Regions from separate parts of the Homo sapiens genome. Here all the other regions are linked to region 6. Evidence: promoter capture Hi-C in 16 types of primary human blood cells and fetal thymus (Javierre and others, 2016). All regions are on one chromosome and are shown on one strand. Each heading gives the region's core, a stretch centred on a gene start or on the middle of the fragment in contact. The rest is flanking DNA. Distances are from core to core; before and after follow the strand shown.

Region 1 (2,739 bases), core at 101-2,600, 1.8 Mb after region 6:
CTTCAACATTAGAAAGTACTGTGTGTGTATTATCATACATATGCATTAACAAATATTAGGTCAGGCTGGGTACTGTGGCTCACGCCTGTAATCCTAGTACTTTGGGAGGCCAAGTCAGGATGGCTTGAGCCCAGGAGTTTGAGACCTGCCTGGGCAACACAGTGAAACGCCATCTTTCCAAAAAAGACACAAACACAAAATTAGCCAGGCATGGTGGCACGCGCCTGTAGTCCCAGCTACTAAGGAGGCTGAGGTGGGAGGATCATCTGAGCCCGGAAGTTCGATGCTGCAGTGAGCCTTGAAAGCGCCACTGCACTCCAGCCTGGACGATAGAGCAAGACCCTGACTCTCAAAAGAAAAAAAAAAATCGGCAAACTACTTAAATTCTTCTGTGTAATTTCCCAAAGTAATGAAAAAGCAGAAATTCTAAGCAATCTACCAACAATAATCTTGGTCATGTCGAAAAAATAATTCCAAACAGAACTTAAGATGTGTCAGTAAGGTGACAGATCCAATGTTTACTCTGAAATTTACTACACATCCACAGGGTGCAGTAAAAGCAACCGCATCAGTCTACAGTGTACCTGGGTGTTTTCCCCAATTACCCTACCACATTTAATTAAAAATAAATGCAGCCTCAGTTGAAATCCTAAATGCTAATATGCTCGTCTGGGTTATTTCTTCTGAACTCGATAAAACGTAAGGAAAATTTGACTCAAGTGAACTGAGGATTTCTCCTGAGAGGAGGGACAGGACAGGAAAGGAGGTAAGAAAAGGAGTTGGGGGAAAAATGCTAAAAGAGAAGCGACGACTATTGGATTTTAAGTTTTAAAATCTTATTTCCACGAGCAACTCTCGCTCTCCGGGGGAAAAAGGGAGAGGTGAGTTGACTGGGAGTTCATCCCTCTGAGAAAAAGATCCGAAGCGGAGTCTCGTGTTGTCTAGCCCGGGCTCACACTGCGCCTCCCTCCATGCCCGGGAAAACCATCTTCAGGAGCAGATGCACCTGCCGGGGACACGGGGCGAGGGGTGCGGAGCCTCCTCCACGTACAATTCTGGGGCGAGGGGCAGGTCCAACATCCCAGATGGTGACCACCACTGCGCAAAGCCGGGGCGCAGCGACCTTCCACGCCCTGCACCCTCCCTGGCTGATGCAACCCACACAGGTCATTGGTCTCGGCCCCTTACCTAGCGGAGGGTCTCCTGAATTCACGGTCAGAGAGAGCGTCGCCATCTCCACCAGTCCGCTGGTCCACCTGTCAGTACGCCTGGCTCGTGCCAGAACTACGGAGGACCCCGCGAAAGGAAGAAGATGCAACGTGTGCGCGTACCCGACGCCGCCGCAGCCTTCGCTCCGCCCCTGCGCCGCAGCTACTGCCGACACCGCGCACGCCGCGGTGCGACATCGTCGCGCGCCGTCTTCGTCCCCGCCCGCAGGTTCCAGAGCCTGCTACCCCTCCTCTTGGCCGCCAGGGTTAGAACGGCCTGCGTGGCCTTTCGTGCTGCGGTGGGAAAGACGCTGAAGTGGACGGGACTTTACGACACTTCGTCAAGTCAGCAGGTCGTAAAACAGCAGGTTGTAAAACCATCTTTAAGATGGGATAGGCGTTTATGTGAAGCACGAAACAAAAGCATGCACTGTCTTTATGTAAAAAGAAAAGTCCTGGAAGCATACACACGATAGCCATGATTACGTTGGGAATGGGAGAAGTTTTTCTCGTTGTTTATTTTATACATTCCCCCCCGTTTTTTTTTTTCCAAAACAAGAACGTATTTTCAAGAGTTATTTGCGTGTTGAAAATAATGGTTAAAGGAAATATAAAAGACTCTTTAAAAATCACTGCAGGCCGGGCGTGGTGGCTCACGCCTGTAATCTCAGCACTTTAGAAGGTGTAGGCGGGCGGATCACCTGAGGTCAGGAGTTCGAGACCAGTCTGGCCAGCATGGTGAAACCCCATCTCTACTAAAAATACAAAAATTAGCCTGGCATGGTGGTGGGCCCCTGTAATCCCAGCTACTTGGGAGGCTGAGGCAGGAGAATCGCTTGAACCTGGGAGGTGGAGGTTGCAGTGAGCCGAGATCGTGCTACTGCATCCAGCCTGGGCGACAGAGTGAGACTCCTTCTCGAAAAGAAAAAAAAAAAAAATCACAGCAGAGGCCGGGCGCGGTGGCTCAGGCCTGTAATCCCAGCACTTTGGGAGGCCGGAGGCGAGCGGATCTCGAGGTCAGGAGTTGGAGACCAGCTTCACCAACATGGTGAAACTGTAGAGACGGGGGTCTCTACTAAAAGTACAAAAATTAGCCGGGAATGGTAGCGCGCACCTTTAATCCTAGCTACTTGGGGAGCTGAGGCAGGAGAATCGCTTGAACCCGGGAGGAGGAGGTTGCGGTGAGCCGAGATCGCGGCACTGCACTCCAGCCTGGGCGACAGACTGAGACCCCGTTTCAAAACAAACAAAAAATCACTGCAGATAGGCGCAGTGGCGCGCTCCTGTAGTCTCAGCTATTAAGAAGGCTGAGGCAGGATCGCCTGAGCCCAGGAAGATGAGGCTGTAGTGGCCTCGCCGTGGACTTGCCTGTGAGTAGCCACTACCCTCCAGCCTGGCCGACACAGGGAGAGACCTGATCTAAAAAACAAAACAAAAAAACCCTCCGATGCCGCCCCCAATCATGGAGTCCACAGGTGTTTTTTTCAGCGTCTCATCTGATTCTCCCTTTCAAATCCTTTGTGACGGACGT
Region 2 (3,041 bases), core at 64-2,563, 1.8 Mb after region 6:
ACTCAAAAAAAAAAAAAAAAAAAAAAATTGTCGCTGAATGCAGTGGCTCACACCCGTAATCCTAGAACTTTTTGGGAGGCCAAGGCTGGTGTATTGCTTGAGCTCAGGAGTTCGAGACCAGCCTGGGCAACATGGCAAAACCTCGTCTCTACAAAAAAATGCAAAAATTAGATGGTGTGGTGGCACATGCCTGTAGTCCCAGCTGCTCGGGAGGCTGAGGTGGGAGAATCACCAGACCCTGGGAGGTCAAGGTTGCAGTGAGACATAATGGCACCACTGTACTCCAGCCTGGGGGACAGAGCTAGAACCTGTCTTAAAAAAAAAAAAAAAAGAAAGAAAGAAAGGCTGGGCGCGGTGGCTCACGCCTGTAATCCCAGCACTTTGGGAGGCCGAGACGGGCAGATCACGAGGTCAGGAGATCGAAACCATCCTGACTAACACGGTGAAACCCCGTCTCTACTAAAAATACAAAAAAAATTAGCCAGGCTTGGTGGTGGGCGCCTGTAGTCCCAGCTACTCGGGAGGCTGAGGCAGGAGAATGGCGTGAACCTGGGAGGTGGAGCTTGCAGTGAGCCGAGATTGCACCACTGCACTCAAGCCTGGGCGACAGAGCGAGACTCCGTCTCGAAAAAAAAAAAAAAAAAAAAAAAAGAAGGAGGAGGAAGGAGGAGGAAGAAGAAGAAGAAAAAAGAAGAAAGAAGAAGAGTTTGTCCTTTGTCCAGTTTGCAAGGGTGTGAGGGAACATGTTCCTGAGCATTGTTGGCAAAGCGGTGAACCCTCTTAGGAGAGTTTTGAGAACCTTAATAAAAGTATAAAGTACGTATCTTTTGAACCAACAATTATATTTACAGAGAAATCCAAATAAATCACGCAAACCTATAAATATGTAGAAATGGCAGTTGGAAGAATATTTGCTGTTTAAAGAAATTTAATTTTAGGTACCAAGCAGTTTCTAAATTTGGGTGCATCAACAAACTCAATGTCTAGGTTTGTCTTGTTTCTACAGTATATGGCTATAAAAACCTTCCGGATCACGAAAATAAAAGCACAGATAAACAATTAAAATATCGACACTCAAGAGTCCAAGTCGGAAGTTAGAATATCTGGAGAAGCAATCTGATTCACATAAACCTTTTTCGTTTTATTTTTTTAACATAAATCCTATCTACCTGGCTCTTGCCCTGACCGGCCGGAGAGAAACGGTGACAAACCTGGAACAACGTTGGACCAAAGACACTTCAGGAGGAGCAAAAGCGCGTTATCGTAGACCCAGGTCCCTCGTTGTGTCCAGTACCGAGCTTTGGCACTGTCAATAAGTCTTTTGAGAAGGATGGCATCCCTACCTCAGCTACTGAGCATGCGGGAAACTGCGCGCAAGCGCACAACAGCGATTTCACACTGCCTCTTTAGACTCCTGATCCGCGGGAAAATTCCACTTGTCCGTGTTTTCTCCAAGCTCTCCGTAGGTGCAAGTCACCTGTTGCATTAAATAAAAGCGAAAGATGTGTCAACTTTCAAAGATTGGCTAAAAAAAGAAAAAGAAGAAGGAAAGAACACATTAAGCCAGCAACAGTGTGTTGAAACAAAAAAAAGATTGGTTTTGGTTTCAGCTGTCTTCCAGCCCACTTCGTAGAGTTCACTGTTTTAAAATGTTCTTTGTATTAGTGATACCACTCTGCGGCTATTTAACTTCGAACCCCTAGCGGTCCGTGGACAGGCTTCAGCAGGTCCACCACACACACCTCCACCTCCCACTCCCCACGCAATAACACAGCAACTTTATGCAGAATTGTGTCAAAGATGCTTGCTTACCTTTTTTTTTTTTTTTTTTTTTTTTTTTTTAAGCGATAGATAGCTTGCTCTGTCGCCCAGAGTCGATTACGGCTCACTGCTGCCTTCCCACTTCTAGGCTCAAGCCATCCTCCCGCCTCAGCCTTCCGTGTAGCTGGGACTACTGGTGGAGGTGCGCGCCACCACACCCAGCTAATTAAAATATTTTTTGTGTACAGATGGGATCTTTTACTGGGGGGCGTGGTTGGGGAAGGGGGCAGTGTCTCATCCTGTCGCCCAGGCTGGAGTGCAGTGGCGCAGTCTAGGTTCACTACAACCTCCTCCTCCTGGGTTCAAGCGATCCTTCCTCCTTAGCCTCCCAAGTAGCTAGGACTACAGGCGCGCCACCACGCCGGGCTAATTTTGTTTGTTTTTTAAGTAGAGACGGGGTTTCATCATATTGGCCAGGCTGGTCTTGAACTCCTGACCCCAGGTGATCTGCTCACCTCGGCCTCCCAAAGTGCTGGGATTACAGGTGTGAGCCACTGCGCCCAGCTTAAAAAGGCTTTTACGTCTTCATTTGATTTTCACAATAACTCTGTGAGTTAAGTAGACCCTTTTTGGGAAGTGGAAAAATATACATAACTTAAATTATATTACTTTAACCATATATATATATATATATATATATATATATATATATATACACACACACACACACACACATATATACATATATATATTTTTTGAGACGGCGTCTTACTCTGTCGCCCAGGCTGGAGTGCAATGGCTTGATCTCGGCTCACTGCAACCTCTGCCTCCCAGGGTTCAAGCTATTCTCCTGCTTCAGCCTCCTGAGTAACTGGGACTACAGGCGCACACCACCCAGCCCAGCTAGTTTTTGCATTTTTTTTTTTTTTAGTAAAGACGGGGTTTCACCATGTTGGCCAGGCTGGTCTCGAACTCCTGACCTCATGATCCGCCCGCCTCGGCCTCCCAAAGTGCTGAGATTACAGGCATGAGCCACTGCACCTGGCCATACTTTGGTTTTTATAATTAAATTGTATAATTACATGACAAGTACAAATGGCTTAAATAAAGACAAACATAATGCAAGGTAAGCTCAACAAGTGAGAATAGAAATCTGCAGTCATCCTAAAGAGTAGCCATCTCCCAAGTGTTCATTGTATCCTCTCATAGGTTTTACGAGAAAACGGCATAGTTGAATTCAGCAAGTTATGTAGAGGTTGGTTAGGAGAGTTTCTATGTAA
Region 3 (2,788 bases), core at 95-2,594, 1.7 Mb after region 6:
GCTGTTGGGATTAATAAGTTACTATAAGTAAAGCATGTGGTAGCACCTGTACATAATAGGTGCTATGTATATGTTAGCTAAGAATAAGAATAAAAGACTAAGCCAAGCCTTCTGGCCTTTCATTTAAGACACAGAAAAGAAAAAATGAAAAAATAGTAATTAAAGAAAAACTCTTTAACAGTACAAGAAGAGATGATGAAAACTATGCATAGTAAAAAAAACTAAATACTGATTTATATTCCTGACCCCAAAACTGTCTCATGAGCGTAGTCTCTGACATAATTTACAACAGGTAAATATATATTATACTGTAAATATACAAACATGGGGAACTCACTATTCCCAGAAGTGACAGTGACGCAAAATATGAAAAGATTTAAAAAAGACAAATGTTCAAGTGGCGCAGCTAAAAATGGCCACTGCCAAAAAAAGGTGGCTTTTAGACGATCAAGGTCACTATCCAACAGGACAATCATGACCTCTCATACCAAGTGCACAGTAGCAGAATACTAGATGGTAGGAACCCAAGATGTCTATAGATATTAAACCATGTAAGGTAAGTATTATTTATGCCTGAATCCACTTAGTCAATTACCAATCAACCATTTAACGATCAAGTCTGTGAATTTTCCACAGTCATCACTTCTGTTTCATCTCCTTCTATCTACCCTTTATTTCACCTCCTGAATCAGCAAACATAGAAAAGCAGAGACAAAATGTGAAATTCTAAAAGCAATTTTACTGTTAATGATGCTTATGAAATAGTTTGTGAAGAAGTATTAAATACATCGCTAAAAGAAAATTGTTTCTGTATCTTCCAGTTTCTACTGTGTACTATAGAAAGGTGAGAACTTCATTATGGTGATAGAATACAAAATCTGAAAAAATTAAATTTGGAAATCTTAAATTTGGAAAAAATAATCACCTCAATTACAAAACATGGCAGAACATTTTCCTAATGGTTAATTTTCTAAGTGAGGCTAACTGCTTTAATAAGAGGTATTTTATTATATTAACATCATTGGAAGGACGCTATTATAAAGCTTGTCCAGTATACTTCAAATAGGATGACAGGTGTGCAAAGACAAAGACTTCCTTCTCAGCCTTGGGGAATGGTGGGCAAGGGCTGAAGCAGCCCCAGCCTGGTGATCACCATACAGAACAGTCTTTTTCTCTAATGAGCTATTCAAATACTACTTTCCATGGGTGCCAAGAGATGAAGGGGTTGGGAAACCTAATGGAAAGAAAGGAATAGGAACAGGCTTTTCAGGACTCCCCTTCACTTGGGGAAAAAAAATAACTTAAAGACCAATACTATTATAACTTCAACTGCTAATTAAAAGGATTGCTCAGGGTACAAATACAAATCCAATTAAATGAAAGCCCAAAAATCTAAAAATAAAAATGAAATTTAAGGTTTCTTATTTTTGGATATTTTGTTAATTACATAATTAAAGTTCTGTCAGGATAAAACTAAAATGTCTCTTTTACTAAGTTGACAAACTAAAACTACAAATTAAATCAACATTAACTATTAATAACATAAAAACTGTTAAAACGTTTAGAATTTTAACTCTCACAATTAAAATCTTATGTTCTTCTATATTATTAACCTATTAATACTTTAAGTATTTAATCACTGTTTTAAAGCTTTCCCACTAAATATATTCAATTATAAATGTGAGTTACATTTTCTTACCCACTGGCCTCTGGAGGAAATCTGACGGTAACCTTTCCCATCTCCGCACCTGGAAGCTCAACAAATTTCCCAACATCTTGCTTTTTCTCAGGTGCCTGAAAAACACAACCACCATCACAACAAAAAGTCTTATGGTTAAATGTCTAAGAACACACTCATTCAACAAATGTGCCAGGCACTACACACACTGGTTATGAAAAATATGATGACTAGAACATCATCCCTACACTTGAGGGTACAAAATCTGGTTAAGAATATAAATAAAACCAAATACCAGTAATACAGATATGTTCAGGGTGCTGTTAGGGCACTCAGTTGAAATTAATCAGCAATACCTAGGTTTATCAGGAAAAGCTTAAAAGCAGTTAAGAACCAAGCTGGACCTCGAAGATAAGTAGAAATGTATCAGATGGAGTATATGGGATGCTAGGCACGGTGGTTCATGCCTGTAATCCCAGCACTTTGGGAGGCCGAGGATGGCAGATCACTTGAGGTCAGAAGTTTGAGACCAGACTGGCTAACATGGTGAAACCCCATCTCTACTAAAAATGCAAAAATTAGCTGGGCCTGGCGGCGTGCACCTGTAGTCCCAGCTACTCAGGAAGCTGAGGCAGGAGAATCGCTTGAACCTGGGAGACGGAGGCTGCAGTGAGCCGAGATCATGCCACTGCACTCCAGCCTGGGTGACGAGCAAAACTCTGTCTCAAAAAAAAAAAAAAAAGTATATGGGGTATTCATTCTAAGTAAATAAATAACAGAGTAGGTAAGGCACAAAGGCAGGAAAAAGTAGTGCAATGTCCATGAAAAGTTAGGAATGCATATTGGGTGGGTAGGGAAGGAAGCCGAAATAGATTAAGTCAAAAACACAGAGGACCTTTTAAGTTTGGCTTTTAAGTTTTAGGCAATGAGGAGTCAGTCCTCAGGGATAATAGGACCGTGGATTTGTGTTTTCTAAAGTGATACCCTGAACTAGAGAAAGATGAGACAAAAGGAAGTTTAGTTATGAGATTATGGTATTAAACCAAGCAAGGAAAAATTAGGCCTCAACAAAGTGCAGTAGCACTGAAGATGGACAGAAAACAAATCTAC
Region 4 (2,820 bases), core at 212-2,711, 1.8 Mb after region 6:
TTTTGTATTTTTGGTAGAGACGGAGTTTCTCCATGTTGGCCAGGCTGGTCTTGAACTCCTGAGCTCGGGTGATCCGCCCTCCTCAGCCTCCCAAAGTGCTGGGATTACAGACGTGAGCCACCATGCTCGGCCAAACTCTTTAAAGCATAATTCCCATGCCATTATCACCACCTTTAAAAAGTAATAGTTATTCCTTAGCAAAATCAAATATCTATTCAATATTCACATTTCTTAGACTTTTAAACCAAGTATGGTATTAATCAAATTGATTTGTAGAGATTTTGCCATTCTGCCAATAGGTGGTGCTACAGAGAGCTTTGTGGGAGGGGACTTCTGGTAGTTACGGTGAGTGAGGAAACCATTTAAACCTTCTTTGAAAATGTAAAAATGCTTTTATTAATGGATAGAAAGATTTTTTAAAATGAAGTTAACATTTTGACCTTTTTGGAGACTATTAGTAAACATTTTTGCTATACAGTTAATCTTTTGCTAGTTGACAAATTAAATCAAATGGTAGCAGTTTTCAACCTTATTTTGGGAATGGAGGAAGGGAGCTTTCTTGAGAGGAAGTAACTGTTAGCCATTTGTCGATAGATATATATATATAGAGAGAGAGAGAGATTTATTTTAGAGACAGGCTCTTGCTCTGTCGCCCAGGTTGGAGTGCACTGCCATGCTCATAGCTCACTGCAACCTTGAACTCTTGGGCTCAAGTGATCCTCCCACCTCAGCCTACCAAAATGCTGGGATTACAGGTTTGAACCACATACTTGGGCTTATTTTGAGAAAGTGTTTTCTGTGTTGTAAACTATATTATGTAAAATTAGGTATATCGCAATCTTTTTTTGGCAGTCTACGATAGTAATTTATTTTTTAAGCATTTTAAAAAATGGTGGAAATCAAGTTTGAATTGATTTTAACTATAGTTTAGTGAAGTATAATAGTTCTATGAAAGCTTTTATTACCAGTTTTGATCTAGGGTTGGTGTAAATTAGAAATTGGTATGAAATCTTTTGTAACATTGTTAAAAAATGCAACAATGCTCCTGATATTATCACTGCTCCCGATATTATTTATTAAGTTCTTCGCGGCTCCATTTTTACTTTGCCTTATTTGCTCTGAAATCTTTTAGTTCTTTAGTTGTTTTTTTGAGGGGAGGGTAAGGGAGGTATGTGAATGGCTACAAACATCCAAAAGAAACAAATGCATTTGGAAAATTGACTGTTCTAGAATACTTGTTCTGCTTTCTCTCACAAGACTTGATTTATGAATTAATTGCAGGAATTGTTAAAAAAGGTGAAATTTATTCCTGGATCAGCACTGAATGGCATGGTTGAAATGATGGACAGGCGGCCATATTGGTGTATATCAAGGCAAAGAGTTTGGGGTGTTCCAATTCCTGTGTTTCATCATAAGACCAAGGATGAATACTTGATCAACAGGTAGAATGCTTTCTAAAATTTTTTAGTGTTTTAAAGTGAAATATTTTTTCTTCAAAAATTGAAAAATAATGTGGATGATTAAGAACCGTTTATATATGTTAAATAAAATATGCTAAAATAGTCTTTTGGGGGACTAAAATATAAGTTCAAAACAATTCTATCATACAGTTAAAATATTAACTAGATTTTCTTAAATATTGATACTTAGAAGTAAAGTCTCTGACTTTTTTTCTATGAGAATTTATTGGGCTGTATTAAGGTATCATGGATCCAAAGATGGACAGTGTTTAGCAGGGGAGCCTGAAATGTATTTTTTCTAAAGGAATGAAGAGAATCACTCTCACATTCTGAGTCTGCTTTCCTTTTCAGTGGAAATGGGATTATGTAATTGTGTAGATACTTAAAATTTAAGAAATTGTAGTTAAATGCACATGATTACACTGATGATTATATTCCCAGTTTTTCCCTTTTTTTTTTTTTGAGTTGGAAAGGTAATAGATGGACATAGTGAACAATTCATAGTAGAAAAGCTTGTACACTGAAAAGTAGGCTTTTTCCTACTCCAGGTATCCAGAACCTTTTTTTGAGGCAGTCATTGTTTACAGCTGTTTCTGAATCTTTCCAGAAAAAATGAATTCTTCTGTCAGCACATACATATGTTTATACAAAAGAGAGTATCTCTATCTTCTGCTCTGTGCCTAGATTTTTTTCACTTTATGTGTTATGATTTATTCCAAATCACTACACATAGATCAGCCTCATTCTTAAGCTTTATTAAAGCATACTTTACATACTATAAAATTCATGGCCAGGTGCGGTGGCTCACGCCTGTAATCCCAGCCCTTTGGGAGGCCGAGGCTGGTGTATCATGAGGTCAGGAGTTCAAGACCAGCCTGGCCAAGATGGTGAAACTCCATCTCTACCGAAAATACAAAAATTAGCCAGGCATGGTGGCGCGGGCCTGTAATCTCAGCTACTCCGAAGGCTCAGGCAGAGAACTGCTTGAACCTGGGAGGCAGAGGTTGCAGTGAGCCAAGATCGTGCCACTGGACTCCAGCCTGGGTGACAGAGTGAGACTCTATCTCAAAAAAATTAAAAAAGAAAAATTCATTTATTATAAGTGATTTATAGTAAATTTGTTAAGTTTTACAGCCACTATCATAATTGTGTCTTAGAATAATTCTTTTATCCCGAACAGCTCCCTTTTGTGCTTTTCGAAAGAGAAGTTGCTTGGAAATCTGTGAGCTTTGGAGAATGGCAACTGAATTTGAACCCAGGCTTTGCCATTCACTGTGTGTGAGACTGAGGAATTTACTTAGCCTCTGGCTCCTCTATAAAATAGGAAAAGCAATGGTTGCAGGTAGACTGTTATGAATAC
Region 5 (3,100 bases), core at 114-2,613, 1.7 Mb after region 6:
AAATGCGCGTACACATCGCTCACACACTTTGGTCAATCGCTGTCAAATAAATATAAATCCAGATCTCCTAAAATATTTTTTCTTAGAAATTCTTTGACTAAATGGAATTAAAATGGCATTAAAAAGTATAACTAATACCTTCACTAGATAGTGAACTCTCTTTCTCAATGTTCTTTAACTTGAGGCGTCAAGTTTAGAACTTAGGTGCTTTATTTTCTTTCCTGAGGAATACAGACAACGAAGCTGTAGAAGACCCAACTCATACTAAGAATACCTCCCCAGCATAGTATAGGCTCACTAGAGTACTAAAAGAAGAGTGACAAAGACAAAGCCAAGTCAGTCTAAGGATGAGAAATGAATAAAAGAGGAAAGGGTACAAAGAATTCAGGAATGAACGTGGATGGTTTTTTCTTTTTAATCCCGCTAGTAGCCAGCAGTAAATTTCTCCTTTAACATTTTATAGCCCAGGTTAAGTAGAAATTAGTTTAGAGAAACTGCTACTGGCATCACACAATAGCTATTTATAAGTAAGCAAAAAGGAGTGCAATTAAAAAGGAAATGACATGGAAAAAAAATCATGTTTAGAAAAGCATATAAAGAAGCTGGTATATTACATAAAAGGGAAACAATTATCAATATAATTACCATTCCTCAGCACAGGAAATTTACCTCAGGGGCAATGTGAAACAAATAAGATGATAAATATTAGCAACTTTGGGAACCCTAGATGTATAAATACCTAAAAATCCCAATATTGCTGAGCTTCCATAGTTTGAAAGCATGCAGCTGCAATCTCAATACATTCTCTCATACTGTCACCTATAATATCAATTTATATAGTCTCGATTCCTAATTTCTAGATCCAGTAAGATTCCCTCTTTCAGCATAAGAAAAAAATGTTGTAAGTTTATAAATCAGAATTAAGGCCACAGATAATCTATTAATGACAATGTGCAATACATGAAAGTTATATTACAAACAATAAAGCAGAATTTAGACTGGCTTTAATAAACAAAATAAAAATCAACAAACTGGTATGAAACAATGTGGTGTGAAAACTCAAGAATAAAATTAATCTCAGATGTTTCACTATTAGCTATAACAAACACAGCTAAGTGATGTCCATGTACTGTTATTCTGGTGGTCTATGTAAATAACTTATTTATTTTATGAATTCCTGGCATAAACATTTTAGTATACTAGTTACGTGAGGGTAATCATAAACAAGCGCTCGAGATCGTTTTTATTCTAACATAATAAAAATAAGCTTCCACAAAAACTATTTTAAATTTAGGTATCACTATTGCAAAGCTATGAACTGTGTCAGTGCTCAACAGTTTAAGTGAAGAAGAAGAAAACTCACAACTATCAAAATAGAGGAAAGTAATGAGAAACCTCGTTTTATAAAAACATGCAGAGGAAAATCTAAACTCAAATTGCAGATGTTGGGGGTAAAAGATAAAGCTTAGGAATTTACCTTGAGCTCCCAGTGATTGAATTTCCAACCTGGAGAATAATTATCTCGTAAATCAGCTCTAACGCGGATGTTAACACTGAGTAATCGCCTTCGATAATCATTGCATTTTGCAATCAGCGCTTCTTTGTCTTCTTCAGAAAGTGCATTGGTAATGCCACAAGGAATAATCACCACCTAGAATCAGCACAATGTCCCAAATGTATGCAAAGAAACAGATATAGAAGTAATGAGCTCTCAGAAGTCGAAACCTACCAGTGGCTATATTATTAACACGAATCAGCTGTGTGATTTCTAATCTTATATATAATGTCTACTAATTACCTGCAAATCACTTACCCGTGCTAAATGCATTTTCATCTGACCCACTATATTTCACTTAATCTATTTTTCATATGTGTGTGTATATATATATATATATATTTTTTTTTCCCCCCCAGCCTCCCAAGTAGCTGGGACTATCAGTGCATGCCACCACACCTGGCTAATTTTTTGTAGACTAGATTTTGCCATGTTGCCCAGGCTTAGTCTCAAACTCCTGGGCTCAAGCAATCTGCCCGCCTTGGCGTCCCACAGTGCTGGGATTACAGGCGTGAGCCTGCATGCCCAGCTCATTTAACATACTATAAACCGTTTTTAAAAAATGACTTCTAAAAATGTTTATATAAGTAGCTTAAAAATTAAAAGAGTAAGAAACAATAAATAAATAATACACACAGTCACAAAACACTAGGGTCCAGACTGCATTCCACGTTGTTTTTATTATCAGAGAAATCTGCCTGAATGATATTCAGAAAATCACCCTTTCAAATTTCCTTTAGTAAATATGGCTTGTATTTTATAAAATGAGTGATAAACAGGAATATTTTCCTTACCTGAACACATGCTACACGGGGTGGTAATACTAAACCCATGTTGTCCCCATGAACCATGGTCATAACACCAATAGTTCGAGTTGTCAGGCCCCAGGAGTTTTGATAGGCAAATTGCTTCTCTCCTGGTATCTTTGGATCTTCAAAAACGATTTCAAACATTTTGGAAAAATTCTGCCCTAAATGATGTGATGTTCCTCCCTAAAATAGAGAGAGAAAAATAAGCTTCATTTTTAATAACCTATTATGCCCTTGAAAATGATTACTATAAGATCACATGCTTTAAAATGGCACTACACTTTTTTTCTCCCTTTTTTTACATTAAATAAGGTTTTTAATTATAAGCATAATTACCATAATAAGAGATTAAGATTAGTCAAAAAATACTATTTACAAGCATTTTGCTCTGGGCAGCCCCTTTTATAGCAGTAATTTTACCTACAACAGTTAAAAAGGAATTCATATTTTAGTAGTAATTCAGGATACATACTATGACTTAACGAACCATGGAGACAGAGGAATGGGATAGATTTGTTTGAAATTATTATACGAAAGTACATGAAACACTTATTTTTTAAGAGTCTACTTCTGTGATGACAGAAGAAATTATTGGATCTGTCCATGGACTGTGCTTACAGTGACCTACGAATCCTGTGTGGCAGTTTGATACCTGGATAGCTCTTCCACTAGCAGATATAAATGCTTCTATTGTAGTTGTATAGTCTCCTCCTGCAAATTTTTCCTTTTCCGTCTT
Region 6 (2,801 bases), core at 6-2,505:
TCACCATGTTGGCCAGGCTGTTCTCAAACTCCTGGACTCAAGCGATCCACTTATCTCAGCCTCCCAAAGTGCTGGGATTACAGGTGTGAGCCACCGCACCCGGCTAGACCCTCTCTCTCTTAAAAGACAAAAAAATTAAAAACCAAGTTTAAAAATGTTGTATTGAGTTTTTAGGATGTGAATATATATTTATTTCCTACATAAACATCTACTGGAATATGTCAAAATGAGGATTCTTGTTTTTGTTTTTGACTTATGGGTATCACAATCTATGAACCTCCTTAAGAGGGGAAAGGGAAAACGCTAAGTTTGGGGAAAGCCTTTAGAACAAGTCTAGCCAGTAAAGGTTTGCTGCATTATCCATCTGAGTCATTAACTTTGTCAATAGTTATATTCTGTCACTCATTCATTGATTCATTCATCCCTTCCAAAAATATTTTTGGAAAATTCACTTCAGGCCAACTTCTGTTGCTAACCTTGAGGGGACATGGTAAATGAAATACGTTCCCCTCCTGCGAGAAGCCAACATTTTAGGGGGGAAAATGAAGGCCGACTGTGGTAGGTGCTTCGATGGAACTAGGAGCTGGTGACAGAGGCTAACTTCAGAGAAAAGCTAGCCCCGGGTGGGAGGCAGGATCCTCGCGCGGATAGCAAGGTATTCGCACCCTCGGTCTGCACTGCGCAGTCGGGCGCCAGAAACCCTCCAGGCCCCAGCCGGGTCCGAGGGAGAAGGGTGCGGTTGGATTCAACACCCGCCCCAGGGAAAGAAGGTGAGTCTATTCGGTTTGCAAGAAAGGTCTCGCGTGTTATCTTGGGCGGGGGGATGATACGATCGTATTCTAATTATCGGCCCCCAGTGGATCTGTCCCGCGTCCTAGCTGCTGCGGCGTTCAGTGGGCACGTAAGAGACACCTGAGGAGGACACTAAACCAACATTAAGGCAGCAGACAAGGGAAGCCGCCGAGGCTAGGAAATCAAAGTGGACCGCGCTGGGCTGGGGACGGGCTGGGGACGCACTGGGGCGGAGGACCAGGGCACAGGCGAGCTAGCGGAGGAGTCGGCTGAGGCCATTCAGCCGCTGATTTTCGTCCTGGAACGGACTTCGCGTAAACACACCGAGCCATTCAGAGCTCTCTCCAAGTCACATTCTGAGGCTCCGGCCCCGGAACTCTGGGCTAGACGACCCCGCCCCGGAACCTTGTGTTACCGGCACTAAATGCAGAAGTTCCTCTGGTTGCCACCGGACGCAACTGTCAGGTGACGCTTCCGGCGCAGAAAAATGGCAGCCGCCGCTCCGGACTCACGTGTGAGTGAGGAAGAAAACCTGAAAAAGACCCCAAAGAAGAAGATGAAAATGGTAACTGGAGCCGTAGCGTCGGTGCTGGAAGACGAGGCCACAGACACTTCTGATAGTGAAGGTAATGTGGTAGGGCTGAGCTTTGGTGTCTGGGAGGAAAGGCGGGGCTGAGTTCGTGTCAAGCAGCGCTTGCGACTTCATTTGCTGCTAGCCACCTGGGTTTTATCTTGGCACCACTTCAGAGGGGCGACTTTGGCTTAGTGAGGAGGCTTGGGGAAGTCGTGTTCAGAGAAGTAACGCTGTCAACTGTAATTTTGAGTTTCCACATTCTTTTACTAGGTATTTTCAGGGTCACCATTATTAATTATAATAAAATGGGTGAAACACCTGCAGCTACCGAGAAACTTACAGTAGCAAAGGGTGAAAGGAAGAGGGTACTTGAAAACAGGAGAAGAATGGGTCTCATAGGGTGTAAGAAGCAAAAGGTTAAAAGAGGTAAGAGGAAGAAGGGGGTGTACTTGACTTTTTGTGCGGTAGATGTGTGCGTGTTTTAGAGACTAAATAATAGTGAATGAAAGAAGAGTTTGGTGGTTAAGGTCGATTAAAAACTGGTAGTGTTTGATAACTATGTCTCTCAGAGACGCTTGATAATAAAAGGAAGGAAGGATGTGTTTTTGAGGCTTTCAACCATGCTGTGTCTGTTGCTCCTCTTTACCATCATTCTTGGCACCAGCTTATTAGGTTACAAGGAATTGCAGGTAATCCCTGACTTCCTACTGCCCAGTTATTGCTCCTTTGTACCAGCTGATACCCAAAAAACAGACAGAGCTATTCTTTTATAACGTATTTCTAATTATGCCCGCTGTCTGTTTGAGATGATCCAGTGGCTTCTCATCTCAGTATATAATATCCAAAATCCTTAGGCTGTATGATTTGGGCCAGGTTGTCTGTCATAGGCCAATATGCCCCTCACAAACCACTAACTGTAATCATGCCATACCGGTATGCTTGTGTTTAACACCTTAAACATGCTCCCACACCATGGTTTCTTCATTTGTTGGCTCCGCTGCCTAGAATAGTTTTCAAATGCTTGGCATGTCTCTCCCTCACCAGCCTCTGATCCAGTGCCTTACCAGAGAGACTTGTCCCTGACTACCCTATGTAACGTACCACCACTACTCTTCTTCCTGCCTTCTTTTCTTCACTTTTTGACTTATTGCCCTGCTTTATTTTTTCTCAACCCTGCCCAAACCATTTGATGTATGTATTTGCTGCTTTCCCAATTGGAATATAAGTTCCATAAAAATAGAGCCTACTGTATCCCCAGTTCCTATTGCCTTGTGGGTCCTTCACAGATATTTAAGTAAATGAATGAATTAACCTGGACTTCCAGGACCAAGAAGAAAGTGTCATATGCTACTGCAATTCCTAGGTAATTAGAGTCTTCATCTCCTGCCACATTGTTAAGGAAAACAAACTATTTGTTGGGCCAAAATTAGAACTT
Region 7 (2,901 bases), core at 63-2,562, 1.8 Mb after region 6:
AGAAGCAAGAGAAAGGATAAACAGAGTGTCCAGAAGGGAAGTGGTACAGAGAGAGGTAATGAAGAGAAGCAGAACTGGAGAAAATGAACTGGTATGTGGGATGTACAATGACCACCTGGGGTACCACAAGTTGCCTGCTTCTTTTCTACCTACTAGTGGAGCCAAAACCCTAGCTATTTTTCTCACCTTTGCTTCATTCCTGTGTTCCCTTAACTGCTGTTTTTCATTGTTCTGTGGAAAATGAATACAATTTTTCTAATCTCAGAAAGAAGTGGTGAAAATTATTAACTCCTAAGCACTTAGATTTTTTCTTGATGAAAGGTACCGTGCATTACAATGCTTTATATGAATTAAATGCCCCTTTTGAAAGTAATAGTATTAACTTAAAGTTTACATAAAAACCACAAACTTATGTCTGTATATAACAGTATCAACATTAAAATCATATTTAAAGAATTAATAGACACAAGCAATTTAACCCCAGAGACTTTCTCAATAACATATAACTCTTTTGGTAAATCCTAAGAAACACGATTCTTAATATAATTTATAATCATACAAACAGCAGGAAAAAACAAATTTATATTAGAAATAAAGCTTAACCTTGCTTTTAACTCAGAGTGGAAATTCAGAAGTAGTATTGCCCACTCTGATTACTTTGTTTCTCTAAAGTTCTATCAAGGTCACATTAATATAAATACCTTAACTACTTTATCTCAACAATTTCCTATACAATTTAATGCAATTTAATGGTAAATTCTTGCTTTGAAATTACACTAGTCCCTTGCTTCTATGGAAGGCAATTTATCTGATGTATAATAGAAAATCAAAGCAGATTAGAAGAGACAAGAAAAAAGAATGCAAGAGCATAGTACGTTCTGTTACCAACACTGACTGTAACTTAGGCGCTACACAGCGTTACCTGGAAAACAACAGGCCTAGCATCTTTTCTTAGTTGAAATGGTTCATTTCTTGAATGTGCTTCAGGAACCAATCATAAATCAGGTGTCTTGATGCCCAAGCTAATCAAGAACCCTATCAGTAATTCTCTCAACATTTATATTTGAATCATAAGGAATAAATTAAAAAATATATAATGCATTTAGTGGGTCTGTGTACATACACATGCATATATATACATACCCAGTACCAATGCCCCCAGCGATTTTGATTCAGTAGGTCTGGGGTATGGCCTGGGAATCCGTATTTTTAAAGGTTTCTCATCAGTTAATAGCATAGCTAAAAAAAAAGTTAAAAATAAATAAATAAATAAATAAAATTTAAAAAATGAAAAGTTCCCCAGATGATTGCATATGCAACCAAGCTAAAAACCACTTGCTTAGGTAACATAAAGAATCAGATAACACTATAATTATTTATCTAATGAAATTACTTTGTATCATTTATAGTAATACCTCATAGTTGTAATATGGCTGGTTAATAACTCCTGCTATGGCTTTTCCTTCATAAGCAATTCCAATAAGAACTGTTACATTGTCAAGAAGACCTGCAAAGAAGAAATAAATATCAGTTATATAACTTGCTCATATTATGACTCATCATTACTACATCAATTGCTCCAAGTTAGTTTTGCAGTTAAGGTATGGAATTTGCAATGATTCATCCGTGATCAATCCTATTTATAGTGAAAGGCATAAATGATAAGCTGGCCAGAAACAGCCATAGGATCTATGGCCACTTAATTGAATTGGCTATCATGGTCTCATTAGTACAATGTGTAAACCAACTAAATAAAGCAGCCATAATTTTGCAGCCATCATCATCAGATTCCTCTGTGCCTCTTCCACCATCATCCAACTCATCCTTACCTGCCGAATCACTTTATATTCCTGGATTACACTCTAGACTTGTATTTCAAGCCTTTAAAACAGAGTTTCTCAAAGGGAGGCCCAAGGACTATCAAGCAGCATTAGAATTAACTGATGTACTTTTTATAATACAGATCTTCTCAGGCTCCTTCCCAGAACTAGTGAATCAAAATCTGAGAGTGGGGGACAAGACCTAAATAAGCTTTCTAGGTGCTTTTATACACATTAAAGTTGTCTAGAGCTTCCTTATTTCACAATGGGTTCTACAGATGTTTTCAGCACACACACATACATACACATGTATACACACACTGTGATTCACCCATTATAGCGATGTCTCATTCAAGAACAGTAAAATAGTTTTTTTCTAGTAATTATGATAAATTTTTTAAGCCATGTCCTGAGAGCCAATACAAGAAAATTTATGTAGACCTTAATTTAATTTTATCATCATCATCATCATTATTATTCTTATTTTCTTTTTTTGAAACAGAGTCTTGCTCTGTCACCCAGGCTGGAGTGCAGTGGCATGATCTCAGCTCACTGCAACCTCTGTCTTCTGGATTCAAGCAATTCTCCTGCCTCAGCCCCACAAGTAGCTGGGATTACAGACGTGTGCCACCAGGCCCAGCTAATTTTTGTATTTTTAGGAGAGAAGGTGTTTCACCATGTTGGCCAGGCTGGTCTTGAACTTCCGACCTAATTATCTGCCCACCTCGGCCTCCCAAAGTGCTGGGATTACAGGCATAAGCCACCACGCCTGGCCTAGATCTTAAGTTTAAAAATAAAACTCTAAGCTTAAAACCTAAAACCTACCAGGTGCGGTGGCTCACACCTGTAATCCCAGCACTTTGGGAGGCCCAGGTGAGTGGATCACCTGAGGTCAGGAGTTCAAGACCAGCCTGACCAACATGGTGAAACCCCATCTCTCCTAAAAATACAAAAATTAGCTGGGCGTGGTGGCAGGTGCCTGTAATCCCCGCTACTTGGGAGGTGAGGCAGGAGAACAGCTTGAACCTGGGAGGCAGAGGTTGCAGTGAGCCGAGATGGTGCCACTGCACTCTAGCCTGGG

Evidence for each region. Contacts are between HindIII fragments. The CHiCAGO score rates a contact against its expected background, and 5 or more counts as called.
Region 1: a contact is called between the fragment with the promoter of EPRS1 here and the fragment with the promoter of RRP15 in region 6, in 6 of 17 cell types (total CD4 T cells, monocytes, total CD8 T cells and 3 more). The highest score is 12.2, in total CD4 T cells.
Region 2: a contact is called between the fragment with the promoter of BPNT1 here and the fragment with the promoter of RRP15 in region 6, in 3 of 17 cell types (total B cells, naive B cells and activated CD4 T cells). The highest score is 7.8, in total B cells.
Region 3: a fragment that was not itself captured here is called in contact with the fragment with the promoter of RRP15 in region 6 in 1 of 17 cell types (non-activated CD4 T cells); the score reaches 5.3 in non-activated CD4 T cells.
Region 4: a fragment that was not itself captured here is called in contact with the fragment with the promoter of RRP15 in region 6 in 1 of 17 cell types (naive CD8 T cells); the score reaches 5.2 in naive CD8 T cells.
Region 5: a contact is called between a fragment that was not itself captured here and the fragment with the promoter of RRP15 in region 6, in 1 of 17 cell types (total CD4 T cells). The highest score is 5.7, in total CD4 T cells.
Region 7: a contact is called between a fragment that was not itself captured here and the fragment with the promoter of RRP15 in region 6, in 1 of 17 cell types (total CD4 T cells). The highest score is 5.7, in total CD4 T cells.

What each region holds. Positions count from the first base shown.
Region 1 is chr1:220,045,155-220,047,893 of GRCh38, forward strand. It overlaps EPRS1 (glutamyl-prolyl-tRNA synthetase 1), which reads right to left and starts at 1,351. Exons shown (of 32, transcript NM_004446.3): 1 at 1,189-1,351. The coding sequence starts at 1,234. RefSeq lists enhancers at 504-1,061, 1,103-1,432, 1,493-1,562. The HindIII fragment of the contact is 10,455 bases long and covers 1-2,739 here.
Region 2 is chr1:220,088,475-220,091,515 of GRCh38, forward strand. BPNT1 (3'(2'), 5'-bisphosphate nucleotidase 1) reads right to left here and starts at 1,314. Exons shown (of 9, transcript NM_006085.6): 1 at 1,212-1,314. RefSeq lists an enhancer at 1,425-1,614. The HindIII fragment of the contact is 18,631 bases long and covers 1-3,041 here.
Region 3 is chr1:220,028,687-220,031,474 of GRCh38, forward strand. It overlaps EPRS1 (glutamyl-prolyl-tRNA synthetase 1), which reads right to left. Exons shown (of 32, transcript NM_004446.3): 6 at 1,700-1,794. Among named protein-coding and RNA genes, the nearest start is that of EPRS1, 16 kb to the right of the region's middle. The HindIII fragment of the contact is 607 bases long and covers 1,042-1,648 here.
Region 4 is chr1:220,113,033-220,115,852 of GRCh38, forward strand. IARS2 (isoleucyl-tRNA synthetase 2, mitochondrial) reads left to right here. Exons shown (of 23, transcript NM_018060.4): 12 at 1,282-1,442. Among named protein-coding and RNA genes, the nearest start is that of MIR215, 3.5 kb to the right of the region's middle. RefSeq lists an enhancer at 1,641-1,810. The HindIII fragment of the contact is 1,017 bases long and covers 954-1,970 here.
Region 5 is chr1:219,977,069-219,980,168 of GRCh38, forward strand. EPRS1 (glutamyl-prolyl-tRNA synthetase 1) reads right to left here. Exons shown (of 32, transcript NM_004446.3): 26 at 3,017-3,100; 27 at 2,350-2,547; 28 at 1,478-1,651. Among named protein-coding and RNA genes, the nearest start is that of SLC30A10, 50 kb to the left of the region's middle. The HindIII fragment of the contact is 197 bases long and covers 1,266-1,462 here.
Region 6 is chr1:218,284,038-218,286,838 of GRCh38, forward strand. It overlaps RRP15 (ribosomal RNA processing 15 homolog), which reads left to right and starts at 1,256. Exons shown (of 5, transcript NM_016052.4): 1 at 1,256-1,418. The coding sequence starts at 1,280. RefSeq lists enhancers at 634-703, 1,234-1,513. The HindIII fragment of the contact is 12,027 bases long and covers 1-2,801 here.
Region 7 is chr1:220,065,887-220,068,787 of GRCh38, forward strand. BPNT1 (3'(2'), 5'-bisphosphate nucleotidase 1) reads right to left here. Exons shown (of 9, transcript NM_006085.6): 6 at 1,416-1,507. Among named protein-coding and RNA genes, the nearest start is that of EPRS1, 21 kb to the left of the region's middle. The HindIII fragment of the contact is 1,434 bases long and covers 596-2,029 here.